Regions from separate parts of the Homo sapiens genome. Here all the other regions are linked to region 1. Evidence: promoter capture Hi-C in 16 types of primary human blood cells and fetal thymus (Javierre and others, 2016). All regions are on one chromosome and are shown on one strand. Each heading gives the region's core, a stretch centred on a gene start or on the middle of the fragment in contact. The rest is flanking DNA. Distances are from core to core; before and after follow the strand shown. Region 1 holds the start of UBE2E1 (ubiquitin conjugating enzyme E2 E1). Region 2 has its middle 41 kb from the start of NR1D2. Region 3 holds the start of LOC105376993 (a long non-coding RNA gene).

What was found. Contacts are between HindIII fragments. The CHiCAGO score rates a contact against its expected background, and 5 or more counts as called.
Region 2: a contact is called between a fragment that was not itself captured here and the fragment with the promoter of UBE2E1 in region 1, in 1 of 17 cell types (neutrophils). The highest score is 5.1, in neutrophils.
Region 3: a contact is called between a fragment that was not itself captured here and the fragment with the promoter of UBE2E1 in region 1, in 1 of 17 cell types (monocytes). The highest score is 5.3, in monocytes.

Annotation. Positions count from the first base shown.
Region 1 is chr3:23,802,906-23,808,027 of GRCh38, forward strand. It overlaps UBE2E1 (ubiquitin conjugating enzyme E2 E1), which reads left to right and starts at 3,050. Exons shown (of 6, transcript NM_003341.5): 1 at 3,050-3,183; 2 at 4,332-4,516. The coding sequence starts at 4,365. UBE2E1-AS1 (UBE2E1 antisense RNA 1) reads right to left here and starts at 4,000. Exons shown (of 2, transcript NR_046652.1): 1 at 3,914-4,000; 2 at 1,119-1,809. RefSeq lists silencers at 2,986-3,095, 3,176-3,305, 3,496-3,795, 3,996-4,175 and an enhancer at 4,476-4,565. The HindIII fragment of the contact is 12,732 bases long and covers 1-5,122 here.
Region 2 is chr3:23,983,661-23,988,782 of GRCh38, forward strand. No RefSeq gene overlaps it. Among named protein-coding and RNA genes, the nearest start is that of NR1D2, 41 kb to the left of the region's middle. The HindIII fragment of the contact is 6,327 bases long and covers 1-5,122 here.
Region 3 is chr3:23,645,470-23,650,591 of GRCh38, forward strand. LOC105376993 (a long non-coding RNA gene) reads left to right here and starts at 1,353. Exons shown (of 3, transcript XR_940651.3): 1 at 1,353-1,537; 2 at 2,066-2,246. The HindIII fragment of the contact is 225 bases long and covers 2,688-2,912 here.

The DNA of each region.
Region 1 (5,122 bases), core at 1,800-4,299:
GCAGTGGCGCGATCTCGGCTCACTGCAACCTCCAATCAAGACTCGCTGGTTCAAGAGATTCTCTTGCCTCAGCCTCCCGAGTAGCTGGGATTCCAGGCACATGTCACCAAGCCTAGATAATTTTTGTATTTTTAGTAGAGACGGGGTTTCACCATCTTGGCCAGGATGGTCTCAATCTCCTGACCTCGTGTTCCACCTGCTTTGGCCTCTCAAAGTGCTGGGATTACAGGCATGAGCCACCACGCCCGGCCAACATACCGGCCAACATAACTTTCTTTGCTTTGATTTCTTTATCTGTAACATGAAGAGTGTGAACTAGAAGATATCTTAGGCCCCTTCTAGGCATAAAATACTATGATTCCTTGAGTATATGTTTCTCCTGGAAGGTTTCTTATATTTTCATCAATTCTAAGTTATAAAAACCCCATGTCCTCTTTTCTGCCCTGGTGACGAAAAACAAAAACATAAAAGCAACAAATAACCCCAAACCCATGAACTAAGAAAATTCCACTAGAGTGGAATTATTAATAATTTACTTTGCGTAACAGCTAATAAATCACCTTACTTACAGATACATATTTGACCTTGCCAGTCAGTAGAGCACAGGTATTTCTGCCCTTTATGGATGAGGGAACTGAGGCTCAGGGAGGTCAATTTAGCTTTTTAGGCCTTGTAGTTAATAAGAAGGAGAGATAGAAAGTTGTGTATGAATTTTTTTTCCCCTAAGACAGCTGCATACAGGTCTTAAAAATAATTCGACATAAAGATTAGTCTTTTGAGAGGACTGGATTCTTTTCTAAACATTTTGAAGTTTTTATTCCCTGTCATCAGGTCATTCCAAAACGATAAAGCACTAACTTAAGCTAGCTGGAATTAGAGATTAGGGGGAACAGTACACAAAAGAGGGCAAGAAACCTTCCAGACAGGTGGTTGGGAAATCACTTTTCCTTATAGGAGGAGCTGTTAGATTTCATGATTTCTTTCACAAGGAATCAGTCCAACCCAAGCATCAGTAACACAACACAAAATATCATGTTCTGTTACAAAAGAATTCTTATTATAGCTGGTAGGCAATTTATGCAAACCAATATTAAAGAAAAAATTCACCTACTGTCCTGATCACTTCAGCAAATCAAACCTTTTATTTTCCTGTGATCTCTGCTAGTTCTTGTCTTTATAACACATGATTTTTTTACTGGTTGTATTCATAATGTAGACATATATTTTTAAGTATCAGAAATCCAAATTTTCATAGGAGGAAATTTCAATTTTAATAACTATTTTTAGATTATTTTCCTCATCCTGAGTTTATTTCATCTTCTTATTGTTTTCTTCTGAATTTACATCTTTTCATCAGAACAAAAAGAATACAATCAGTTTTTCAGAAGTTTAAAAAATTTTTTCAAATATATAGCAAAGAATGTCATCATTTTTATATACTCTACCAGGACTCCTGAAACCAAACACTTAAGAAAGGTTATGTCTGGAAATTTTTTCAAAATCTATATGCATTTCAGTGGTGGAGAAATAGTTCTGTCTGGAAGCAGGAGGCTGAAATTATGACCCTGAAGATTTCTTCCAGCTTTTGAACTTCTTATTCTATGACAACTCCTGGTAGATACAGGTTTCCTGGTAGGGATTGAGCAAGAAGCATGCACAATTACTTTATGAGTCTTGATAAAGCTGGAATTTCAGGTTGATGGTTAGAAGGAGTTCGGCTGGGTCGTGAGAATGCTTGTTTTCCTGGTTACTGGATATGCCATGGGCTGTATATCTTGTGTTGTCCTGTGGTAACTGAAGCCACTGTTGCTGTGGAAAATGATGGCAGTTTGAATGAGATAATTTAGAGTGACCTATGGAAATCTGAGGCTGTCTCCTTAATGTACAAGACCTTGTATGTGTGGCACTGTTGTATTTGAATGGCACACATCTCTTTAGTTCCCTTCAACTGAAATGACAAAAGGTGAGAAACTGAATCGTAATTTGATGGCTTAATATTAAAAAAAAATTGGCAAAAATGCTAAATAAGGAACAATTCAGAAGAATTGCTGATCATTTCAAAAATATTATTTGCATAGCATTTATAGGTAGCTAAAGAAAGAGAAAAATGGCTTAATATTTTAAAAATAATTTGGTCAATTTAGCGATCTGGGGATTCTGCGATCCCCAGAACTTTGCATCCAATTTCCAAAAACCAAACCTTACATCTAATGTAAAATGACACAAAAAATTCTAAATCCAGTCTAATTCAGTAGTATATAGCTTATTCCCAGTGATGTCTCACATTCGCAAGCCCGTTACACGTTGGTTTTACCTGTCACCAAAACCTTTGTATCACTCTTATAAAAAACCACATCACTTTCTATAAAAAGTGAGTGGAAGAATCTAATATTGTAAAACTGCACGTGCCTCGCGTGACCTGAGCAGAAAATTCCTAGTTTGGGATTTTCTCACAGGCATACCTAAACTGACCTCTGCTCCTAGCAGGTAAATTGCTAGAAGGAGAAGCAAGTGTCAGTCCAAAGAAAACCCTTGTTGTGTGATTTTTTTTTTCTCTTTAATCGCTTTTTAGGTGGAGTACCCGCTGCATTCTCTAAAGTCTTTGCCACCACCAGATTACCAACGTTTTCACCAATTTGCCACCTCCCTACTCCTCTCCTTTCCAAAAGCCCTCATTGGAAAGAACTTTCTCTCGTGACCCCCCTATTCCATCTAGTTCCAATCACTCCCAGCGCCCCCCATCTCCATCGGCTTCCCCTCTCCCGCCCAGAATCCAGGTTCCCAAACCACTTAAGAGAAAATTCACAACCCTCGCCCCCTTCCCGGGCGTCCGGAGGAGGCGCTGGGGTGGGGGTGTCTGTGGGGGACAGGGTTTCCTGGGGTCTCCTGGGTCTTCCTCGCGCACCCCCAGGAGGTGTTGCAGGGGGAGGGGAGCGCGGGTGGGTGGGACCGGGCCGGGTGGGGGAGGGGTGAGGGCGAGGAGGAGGAGGAGGAGGAGGCGGCGGCGGAGGAGTGGTGTGTGTGCGAGCGTGTGTGGCTGGGGGAAGCCATTGCCTGTTTAATAGTTGCTGTTGCTGCACTTCCGCTTCTCTCCCAGCGAGAGAGAGACACGAGTGGCCAGGCCCAGCCGCAGCCGCAGCAGCAGCCGCCGCGGCGGCACGGAGGAGCCAGACACAAAGAGAGGTACGGGGATCCCCCCAGCGGCCCGCCGCCCCCCGGCCGCGCCGCCGGGCCTCGGGGACACCCCTCGCCGCCTCCCCCGACTCGCGCCGCCGGGGCCGCCGGGCCGCAGGGCACGGGGCCGGCGCGGGGGGGGAGCGGAGAGGGGCTGGGGAGCCCCAGGGGTCCGGGGCCCGCCCGCGGGGGATGGGCAGGGACCCCGGGCCGCGTGGGGTGCGGGGGCCGCCCGCATTGAGGACGGGGGTCATTGTGGCTCGAACTGTCAGCGCTGCCCCAAGAGCCCCCCACTGGCCACCGAGGGGCCCGGGAGCGGGGGTGGGAGGGAGTTGGGGGAGCCCCGTTTTCCCCAGGGGCGGGGGTTCGCGGGGATTAACCCCTCCGGGGCGGAAGGGCTCATTGTTATGTCTTCGCTGCGGAGGCCGACCCCCCCATTCCCCGCCGCAGCCCCTATCCCCCTACAGGAGTGGCGATCGGGCGTGTGCTCCGGACCCCCGCCCGGCCGCATAGCTGTGAGCAGGGCGGCCAGAGGCAGGCAGGCCGGGAGGGGCGTCGGGGCGCGGCGCGGGGGGGCCTCGGGCCTCGTCGCCCCTGCCCCCCGCCGGCCTCTCCCTTCCCCCACCCGGGCACCCGCTCCCCGCCTCCGTCCCCCTGTTTCGGCTTCCTCTCTTACTCCTTCCCGCCCCTCCTCTCTTCCCGACCTCGCCAAACTCCGCTCGTGGCCCCACAGTCTCACCCGGGCCACCGGCCCCTCACGACCCCCGGAAAGCGGACAAAAACAGCCCCGAGGCCGGCCGGCCGCCGGGACCTTCCCTCCCTGCCCCGCCGTGGCGCCCCGCGCCCCCCGCCCTGCCCTCCTTCGCCTCCCGGGCTACTCCCTCCCTGCCCAGCGGAGAGCCCCGGGGGGCGAGGGAGGGGCCTCTCTCCTAGCTCCAGACCGTTTTCCCACAGCGTTCCCCACTTGGGGCCAAAAATAAACAAGCCGCGTCCGATTTGCAAAAGCCTTAATGGGCCTGCAGACTTTGAAAAGCGAGTGGAGGGCGGTGGGCGGCCGCGTGCGCCCCTGGTCAATGCCCTCCTGACAGCACCCGAGTTCCTTATTTACACTGGCTGCATGGTTTGTGTGTTTCTGTTTTGTTTCTCTCCCCCTGCAGGGGCTGTTTGCGGGGTGGGGTGGGGGGTTCGCTATGTCGGATGACGATTCGAGGGCCAGCACCAGCTCCTCCTCATCTTCGTCTTCCAACCAGCAAACCGAGAAAGAAACAAACACCCCCAAGAAGAAGGAGAGTAAAGTCAGCATGAGCAAAAACTCCAAACTCCTCTCCACCAGCGCCAAGAGGTACTGTGCTCTTTTTTTTTTCCACAGGCTTCCTATTTCCGAACTGCCTCTTGCTGCATTTGGTCTGCCTCCCAATGAGGATAGCTTAAACGCTCCTCATGGTTTATGTGTTCTTAAAAATGAAAGAAGGGCCTTGGAAGCCCTAATTATTTTCTCTATTGCTGCTTCTGTTTTTAAATCATTGCTCACATGCAGCTGTTGCGGCTTGCCTCTCGCATTTCTTGCTGAAGTTTGTAAGATTCCTCGTTACTTTTATTAGTGACCCCCAAATCTGATTTCAGATTTCTTGTCCTACTAATGGTTAATCTGTGACCTTCCCCAAGGCCATGATCCCATTTCTTAATTACTAATACCAGCCCAGAGAACTGCATCAAAATGAATTCTGTGACCATTTTACCTTCTCCTCACCTGTTGCATGGATGATCTTTTCTAAATAGAGCTTTCTTCACAAATTGCATAAGGAATAAGAAACTCATATTAGCAGGTACAAAATTTAGTAGGTGAAGACAGATGTTTTCTGGTGGAATTTAAAGAGATTTTTCTGAGAGTTGAGGCAAATGAATGAATCAGTAAGTGACTATAAAATGGTTATTCTAGGTTATTTTT
Region 2 (5,122 bases), core at 1,584-4,083, 180 kb after region 1:
GTTCCTAAAATTTTTCCCCCTATTTTTTCTACTGGAGTCTGCAGAGTCAAATATGATCTTCTTAAAGTCTCTGAAGTCAGTTCTGTATTTTTTTTTCTTTTCTATTGTCTCATATTGCTCTGAACACCTTAACTCCAGCAGTTTTCCCCTTATTATTTTGTTGCTTTGCTTATAAATGCTCATCTGTTTTCTCCCCCTGCAGTAGCTGTTTAATTTCCTGTCTCAATTCTGCAGTTAAATGCAGTTAGGGTCGTTTCCAAAGTGGAAAGTACCTACTTTCATTCTCTTGATCAACTTTTTGTTCTCTACTATGGCTGCTGTTTTCCTAGGCTGTTTTATCTGATCAGATTTTCAATGAATGGACTAATGGTTTAGTCACTTATTATTATTATTATTGTTATTTTTTGAGATGGAGTCTCACTCTGTTGCTTAGGCTGGAGTGCATGGCTCAATCTCGGTTCACCGAAACCTCCGCCTCCCAAGTTCAAGCAATCCTCCTGCCTCAGCCTCCTGAGTAGCTGGGATTACAGGCGCACGCCATTGCGCCCTGAATTCCTGGAAACAGGAATCAGACCTCAGGAGCTCTCACAAGCCAGCTCCGGCATACAAGGTCTACAACAGCAGTGCCTGGCAATTATCCTTCAAAATGCTGGGATTGGTAGCCATTGTGCTCCACGTGCATACAATTCCCCTAACACTGTCTGAATTAGTTGCCCAGCCCTTCATGGAACCTCATTTTGCATTGGATTTTTTTTTTTAATCCTGACACATAGATATTCAATAACTGTGTGCAATTAATAAGTGACTAGGCCAGGCGCCATGGCTCACACCTGTAATGCCAGCACTTTGGGAGGCTGAGGCAGGCAGATCACCTGAGGTCAGGAGTTTGAGACCACCCTGGCCAACATAGTGAAACACTGTCTCTACTAAAAATACAAAAATTAGTGAGGCGTGGTGGTGGGCGCCTGTAATCCCAGCTACTGGGGAGGCTGAGGCAGGAGAATCACTTGAACTCGGGAAGCAGATGTTGCGGTGAGCCGAGATCGCGCCACTGCACTCCAGCCTGGGTGACAGAACGAGACTCCATCTAAAAAAAATAAAAATAAATAAAATAAAAAAATAGGTGATTAGGCCATGAAGGCTCTGCCTCTTTGAATGGATTATAGCGGGATTGGGTTCCTATAAAGGGTGAGTTTGGCCTGACTTCCTCTCTGTTTTATGTGCTTGCTCACCCTTCTGTTATGATGCAGCAAGAAGGCCCTCACCAGATATGGCCCCTCAATCTTGGACTTTGTAGCCTCCAGAACATAAGCTCAATAAACCTCTTTTTTTTATAAATTACCCAGTTTACCCTATTTTGTTATAGCAGCAGGAGTTGGACTAACAGTTCTCTTCTGTGTCAGGCTTCTTCACCCAGCATAATGTTTTTGAGGTTCATTCATGTCATTCGTGTATTGGCAGTTTGTTCCTTTTTATTGCAAGTCATGTTCCATTGTATAGATGCATCATGGTTTATCCATACGCCTATCGAATGGACATCTGGATTGTTTCCAGTTTGGTTATTATGTATAAAGCTGTTAGGAACACTCCTTTGTATTTGCAGTTGCACTGTTTTGTGACTTAACCCTGGTATATAATCTGTGCTAAGTTCTAAGAGTTCAAGAAGCAGTATATAATGGAAAGCATGATAAACGAAAGTAAATCATGAAAAGAATTAATACTTTCTGTATTACTGAAGGAGCAGTGCATCAATTAGAAGGTGCTTAAGCTCTGTCTAAAAGGGAGTTCAGGCAGAGCATAGTGTCTCATCCCTGTAATCCCAGCTCTTTGGGAGGCCAAGGTGGGAGGATTGCTTGAGGCCAGGAGTTCAAGACCAGCCTGTGCAACATAGTGAGCCCTCATCTCTATTAAAATATTTCAGAATTAGCTGGGTTTGGTGGTTTGAGGCTGTACAATGAGCTGTGCACTCACTGTAACCACTGCACTCCGGCCTGGGCAACAGAGCAAGACCCTATCTTTAAAAAAATAAAAATTAAAAAACATGGAGTTCTGTAATAAGGATGCTTATTAATTTTTTTTCCTACACAAGACTTCTAGAGGCAGGACAATTTCAGGCTGGTTCAGTGGCTTCACAAATGCCATAAAAAACACAGGCACCTACCTTACACCCATTAGGATGGCAACTATCAGGAAGAAAAAAAAAACACCAGAAAATAAGTGCTGGTGAGGATGTGGGGAAGTTGGAACCACTGTGCACTGTTGGAGATGTAAGTCAGTGCAGCTGCTGTGGAGGACAGTATGGCAGTTCCTCAAAAAATTAAAAATAGAACTACCATATGATCCAGCAATTCCACTTCTGGGTATATACCCCAAAGAATTGACAGCAGGCTCTCGAAGAGATATTTGTACTCACATTTATAGCAGCATTATTCATAATAGCCAAAATGTGGGAAAACCCCAGATTTCCATAGAAGGATGAATGAATAAACAAAATGTGCTATTATTGAGCCTCAAAAAGGAAGGATATTCTGACACATACTACAACATGGATGCACCTTGAAGACATTGTGCTAAATGAAATAAGCCAGTCACAAATACTGTAAGATTCTACTTATGTGAAGTACTTTGAGTAGTCAAATTCATAGAAACAGAAAGTAGAAAAATAGTTACCAGGGTTTGGGAGGAGGGGGAAAGGGGGAATTATTTCAGAATTTCAGTTCTGCAAGATGAAAAGAATTCTAAACTAAGAGTGGAACTGGCATGTCCCTGACACAAAGAAATGATATGCTTGAGGTGATGGGTACCCCAATTACCCTGATTTGATCATTATACATTATATGCCTGCATCAAAATGACACATGTACCCCATAAATACATACAACTGTTATGCACCCATAATAATTTTTAAGAATTCTTGAGATGGGTTGTACAACAAAGTGATTGTATTTAACACTATTGAAGTGAACACTTAAAAATGGTTAAGATGGGCCAGGCGCGGTGGCTCATGCCTGTAATGCCAGCACTTTGGGAGGCTGAGGCAGGTGGATCATGAGGTCAGGAGATGGAGACCATCCTGGCTAACACGGTGAAACCCCATCTCTACTAAAAATACAAAAAATTAGGTGGGCATAGTGGTGGGCACCTGTAGTCCCAGCTACTTGGGAGGCTGAGGCAGGAGAACGGTGTGAACCTGAGAGGCGGAGCTTGCAGTGAGTTGAGATCGCGCCATTGCACTCCAGCCTGGGCGACAGAGCGAGACTCTGTCTCAAAAAAAAAAAAAAAAAAGTTAAGATGGTAAATTTTATGTTATGTACATTTTACCACAATTAATTAAAAGAAAAGAAGGAACCTAGGAGTTCTGATCCTTCTTTGTCATCCTGTGCCTGTTTCTAATGTTTTCTCTCATGGTTGCAAGATGGCTGCCACAGTTCAGGCATCACAGCAGAGGTACCATTTCCAGATAAGAAGGGCAGAGACCTTCCTCTTGTATGTTAGGGGGGAATCTTTTCCAGAAGGCTCTAGCGGGCTTCACCCTTCAGTTCCTGTTGGCCAGACTGGGTCTCCTGCCTCAAGGGAGCCTGGGAAAGCAAGTATCTAACATTTTTCAGCCTCTGTAGAGAGCAGCGGGCTCTTCCAGAAAGAAGCTGTTGGGGAAAGGCTATTGGGTAGGCCACTGATGTGGTTTGGCTCTGTGTCCCCAACCAGATCTTGTGTCGAATTGTAATTCCCAGTGTTGGGGTAGGGACCTGATGGGAGGTGATTGGATCATGGGGGCGGAATTTCCCCTGGCTGTTCTTGTGAGAGTGAGTTCTCATGAGATCTGGATGTTTAAAAGTGCCTCCCCCTTCACTCTCCACCTCTCCTGGTCCTCCATGGTAAGACGTGCTTGCTTCTCCTTTGTCTTCTGTCACGATTGTGTAAATTTCCTGAGACCTTCCAGCCATGCTTCCTGTATAGATAGCCTGCAGAACTGTGAGTCAATTAAAGCTCCTTTCACCATAAATCGTCTGGTCTCAAGTAGTTCTTTTTTTTTTTTTTAGACAGAGTCTCACTCTGTCGCCCAGACTGGAGTGCAGTGGCGTGATCTCGGCTCACTGCAACCTCTGCCTCCTGGGTTGAAGCAATTCTCCTGCTTTAGCCTCCCAAGTAGCTGGGATTACAGGTGCCTGCCACCACGCCTGGCTAATTTTTGTATTTTTAGTAGAGACAGGGTTTCACTATGTTGGCCAGGCTGGTCTCAAACACCTGACCTCAGGTGATCAGCCTGCCTTGGCCTCCCAAAGCGCTGGGATTACAGGCGTGAGCCACCACACCCGGCCAGTTCTTTTTGTTTTTAATTTGTTTTTTCCCCTTCCTTTCTTTCTCCTTCCTTCCTTCCTTCCTTCCTTCCTTCCTTCCTTCCTTCTTCTCTCTCTCTTTCTTTCTTTTTTTTTTTTTGAGACAGGGTCTCACTTTGTCACCCAGGCTGGAGTGCAGTGGTGTGATCTTGGCTTACTGCAGCGTCGACCTCCTGGGTTGAAATGATTCTTCTACCTCAGCACCCCAAGTAGCTGGGACTACAGGCACACACCACCACGCTCCGCTAACTTTTTGGTAATTTTTATAGAGATGGGGTTTTACCATGTTGCCCAGGCTGGTCTCGAATTGCTGAGCTCAAGTGATCCACCCACCTTGGTCTCCCAAAATGCTAGGATTACAGGTGTGAGCCACCATATTCGGCCTCAGGTAGTTCTTTTTTTTTTTTTTTTTTTTTGAGACCGAGTCTCGCTCTGTCACCCGGGCTGGAGTGCAATGGTGGCATCTCCGCTCACTGCAGTCTTTGCATCCCGGGTTCAAGCGATTCTCGTGCCTAAGCCTCCCGAGTAGCTGGGACTACAGGTGTGCACCACCATGCCCAGCTAACTTTTGTATTTTTAGTAGAGACGGGGTTTCTCCATGTTGCCTAGGCTGGTCTCAAATTTCTGAGCTCAAGTGATCCACCCTCCTTGGCCTCCCAAAGTGCTGGGATTACAGGCCTGAGCCACCACACTCAGCCTCAGGTAGTTCTTTATAGCATTGTGACAACGGACGAATATGGACACCAAGAGTCATCCATATCTTCTACATCGAATAGTAAGGAACA
Region 3 (5,122 bases), core at 1,550-4,049, 160 kb before region 1:
TCTCAGGTTAAATTAGTTGCTCAGAGAGGCTGCAGTCTCTTTCCTGGCACTGGGTATTTGAGCTCCACTTGGGGCGGCTGATTCTGGAAGACTGTTCTCACCTGAACCTCATCAGGGCACCATGGCAAGACCTCTCAACTAGGCTGCATGGAACACTCTAGGGTCTTTGTTCCCCTCTCCTCCACCCCGCCTCACCCCCAAATCCTTCTCTTTTAGTGACCCCTTCTCTCAGCCGTGCAACCTCCACAGATACCCTCCCTACCGCCACCCTCCAACTGTCCCCAGGGAAATACACACTCTCCTGCCCTTCCTGGAAAATAACCTTGATCCACTTTTCCTGCAATCACTCGCTCAAGACTGGCTTTTCTCCTCTGGCCTGTCTGGACCAACATCCATCAATGATGTGACAAAAATTGTTGTCCATGTGCCGTCTCCTGGAAGTTCTCCCTCACTCCCCTGCAGGCAGGAATCCGTGGGGGTGGGGATAGACACCAGAGTGTGCCTGCGATAATAGGAACCCAAACCAGCATTTGTAGAGGCTTCACTGTGTGCTAGGCACTGTGCAAAGCAAGGCATTGCATGGGCTAACTCACTGAAGACCCACTTCTGTACATTGGGGTAAATCTTTGTACTATGCACACTTTACAGATGAGAAAACGCAGGCTCAGACTTGCCCAAGATCACATAGTGGGAAATACTGAAGCAGCCTGACCCTAAAGACCTAAAGTCATGCATGTATTTCGTGAATTGCTTATATATGTAGTTATACAATCCTACACTTTGTTCCAGGAAGGATTTATAATGATTCACAGAAACACATAAAGATAAGATAAAATTTTAAATTAACAGGACGATAAACCAGGACAACAGGAAAATGAGGACAGGAAAGACCGAGTGGAGCCAGTGGCGATCTCTGTACACAAAATAAAAGCCAGTGGCATTTTGTCTGCATCACAGCTATAAAGTTATGACTGTGTCTGGTATCAAAGTCATTTCTGAGCACGTCTTATCTGCACCACTGTTGGCTGCTTTAGGGCAGGGTGAGCCATCAGCATTTTCTCTCCCACATTTTATCCAACAACTATTTAATGCACAAATATAATTATGAAGGAGGATGCATCCTCTCCCTCTCTCTGTCCCCTCCTCAATCTTGCTTGCTCCTGAAACGGGAATTTCTACTTGTCTAAGGCCCTGGAGAAGTTTCTACTTTCTATGCACCTCCCAGTGGATCCACCCTGGGGGAAAAAGAGTGATTCAGTTGATTAGGGCAGTGGCAAAAGGTGCCCCATTGGCCCACATTTCTCTACGGGGTGGGGTTAGCTCTTTAAAAGATTCCCACTCCCCTGGGCATTGTTCTGTCTCTCCTTGGGCTGTTTCTCTTGGAGGTGACTTTCTGCAAGGCTCTCCTCCCTGACAGGGAGCAGGATCGGGGACAGTGTGTAGGAGCCTGCAGTCTCCAGCTGCTCTAAGTGAGCTTAGGTGGGAAAAATCAATTCAGTGGAAAGTCATGGGACAGACACTTTGGCTTCAGATCCAGGTTTGCAGTAATAAATTTGATGTTTTGATCCCTAAACTGACTTGTAGATCTGTTTCATATTTAGTTCAGAATCTGAAAGGAAAGAGTGTGAATTTTTTTTGACACTTTAAAATCTCAACTAATGATTTACTTTCTCACAAATATTTCTATTCTTAAAATAGGGGGCCTTCTGGAGCCATCTCAGTTAGGAAAACTTGTGATCGCAAGTAACCAAAAAAAAAAAAAAAAAAAAAAGCCATAATGGCTGCATTCATTTGGGTCCTATGAGAGGAAAATGCCAAGACAGGATTAGATGTGCAAGCAATTTATTGGAGCAGTGCTGGAGAAGCATAAAAAGGAAAAGGCCAGAGAAGGCAGAGAGAACCTTCAGGCCGTGGTGCTGGTCTGACGTGTATGAAGAAAAGAGGGGAGGAAGGCAGATGGAGTAGAATGTCTTAGATTGCAGTGCGGGTCCAAGAAAGTTGTGGCCAAGGCTGATGGGAATCCTTGACGCAGTGTTGCCCATTGGTGTATCCCTGTGTCTCACAGGAATAAGAAACCTGCATTGGCTGTGCTTCGTCACTGATTCAGGAGCAGCCTGTGGAAAGCGTGGCCTCAGCATCAATGTGGTGGTGAACCCAGAGGAGTGGAAACAAGGCCAACTATTATGCTCCCTGCAGCAGGAGACCTGAGTGGTGCATTGTCCTGGCCATCACAATGGCTTGATCAGGTAAGGGTTTGGTTTCTCCCATAATAATAGTTTGAATTAGGTAGGCATCTGCTGGCTTCAGGCCAGTGTTCCTGCTTTATTTTGGGCATGCCATTGTGGCCTCGCAATCACTGCAGCCACTGCAATCATCACATCTGCAGTCAGCAAGGAGAAAGGTGGAGTGGCAGCACCTCTAGCAAGAAAACCAAAACACTCTGTGAGCCTCACAGCAGCCTTCTCTTGGGTCTCATTGACCACACAGCTGGAGCATGTGGCATCCCTGGAAGGGAGCTTAGAGAGAAAAAGTTGGGGAAGAATATTGGGTCAGCCACCATGATCATGTGCCTGCCACAGAGGCCCAACATAGGCCCCAGAGGAAGACCCTGATATTGGCATTTCAAGCCCCCGCGGATGCTATGTTGGGTAGTTAATTAAACCTGGCCCCGCTGTGCCTCCAACAGAAGCTTCCTGGTGCTTCTGGGTGATCAAGTCTCGGTGTACTCCATCGAAGTCTCTCAGGATGCTTTCTAATAGCTCAGCCTGGTGCAACATAGCATACAAATTAGACAGTTCATTTCTCAGAAAAGTATTTGTATTTTCTTTGGAGAGCTGACTATGTATTTGGAGAGGAAATGGCTTGTTGTTTGCCTGCCCTATCAGGTGCTTTTACTTGTGTCCTCTTGTTTAAGCTTCCCAATGGCCTTGCGTGTGTGGTGGATGTTCTCACAGGCATTGGGGTGGGTCTCCCTCTGTCTGCTCTACTCTCCTCTGTTGTGGCAGCCATGGGATTTGGGATGTGGACACCAGGCCCACAGGGTGGGCCTGATTAATCTAAGCCAGTCAGAGTAATCTCATTACCTTGGTAGTCATTGGTGCAGAAATGAGCTTGTAACCAATCTGGCGCAATGAGATTCAGGGGAAGGTTGCTGGGCTTCTGGGAACCTGTTTGCTTGGGCTAGAGAAAAAGCCACAGGAAGAGCAGTTTGTGTCTTCAGCTAAATGTGAACGGGAAAACCAGGAGCCCTAATTGCTGTGGCTGTATCCTGTGACCCTGAGAGCAGCCCTGTTTAGAACAGATCCAACACTGGATGGCAGCCTTGGAGTCAGAAAGAGCCTGGGTCCTTGAGGACATCACTGAGAAGCTGGACCAACCATCCTGATGACCTCACAATCTGTAGACGCCCAGATATGTGAGCCCATCTGTTTCCTTATGTGAAAGTTAATGTGGTTGGATTTTCTCTTACACTGAAAGCATCTAACTGCTCCAGGTGTTATGCCCGTTTTCAGTTGAGGAAGCTGATATCCAGAGAGATGGAGTAACTTGCCCAAGGTCGCACAGCTTGTGTGGCAGAGCTGGGCTCGGGACCAAGGTCTGACTGTTGGCTCCACACCCTGCAATTAATCTGCTGTTCACTGGGAGAGGTGATTCGTGTATTTCAAGATTATAAGAACAGCTCAGACATGCTTAACTTACTAAGAAACTGGTATTGGACTTTTCACACTTTCTCTGAGTTCAGAGCTGGGCCATTTCCTGTGTAACAGGGATCTCCAGAATATCAAAAGACTTCACAAATCACAGTGGTGCCAAAGAAGACAGATTTAATACTGGTTTTCAGGATGACATCAGTTCTTTTTCTCCATTTTTAAAAGTAGGCAGTAATGATGACAGCATATAAAACAAATATATACCAGGTCGTAGCTTCCAATTTCCTCTTATCAGAATTGACAAATGTCCCACACCGTGCAGGAAGAGTGCAGTTAAGAAGGGGCACAGAGTTATCTGTGAGTTTTCATTACTTTTGTTCATTATACTGCTGCATTCCCAATCTTTTCACCCTCAATCCTGTGGGTTAAAGGACTGCAAATGCAGCAGTGTAATGAGCAAAAGTCTAAGAACTTTTTCTGGAACAACTTAAAGTCTCAGAATTGGACAGAATTTGGAGGACAGCTGGTTTAGTCCCTCCCCCGTGGCAGGCAGGAGTCCCTCCCAGAGCACCCCCTGCTAGGCAGCCATTTAGCTTTCCCTAGAAAACGCTCTGGAGAGGAGTCACTCTTTTCTACTCTCCTTGCTAGGAAGCTCCTCATATTGCACTGACTTCGTGCTTATGTATTGTTATAAACCAAGTCACTGTTCTTCAGAGCAGAATGGATACCAGCTCATTAAAAGACAAATGGCGACAAATTATCTTTGTGACTGTGTTCTCTTCCCAAGGTGATCTGATGAGCCATCAGTAATAGATACCCCCCAATAGGGTGACCAAGCCTACTTACCCCTTTACCCCTTAACTCACTCTAGGTAGAAATGGGATACACATCCTGTCTGTGAATTTGATGTAACCCAGGAGAGAGACAAGGGGTAACTTCAAGGTTTTATGTAGCTGAAAGATGACCTTCAGGCGGGGGATGACTTTGTTTTTTGCCTTATTTTATTTTATTTTATTTCAAAATCACACATTTGTTTAGCTCTAAGAGTTAAATACCACTACAAAGCTAATAATGAAAAACAGCAGTCTCTACCTATGGTCTCCCTGTCTTTACATCTTCCTCTCCAGAGGCAACCCCTTGCAAGTCTTCTGGCCATTTCTTCTGGTGTTTATACTTAAATTTCTCAATAATGTGTTGATACTGTTATTTCTTGATTTTTCAGTTTTAGGTATAATCCAATTTCTTCCTATCACAGAAAATGAGGATTGAGCATGGCTTCACCTCTCCTTCCTTTCCCTGGTGCTGCTCCTGACCCCCAACCCCCACCACTCACATGCAAACTTCCTCTTCTATCTTCCCAATATAGTTGCATCATAGTTTTTGGTTGAGTCAACATGTATTATTTAGATTTATATGATGATGTAGATCTTGCTCACAGCTGAGCCATGCAATGAAATCCAGAAAGAATAAAG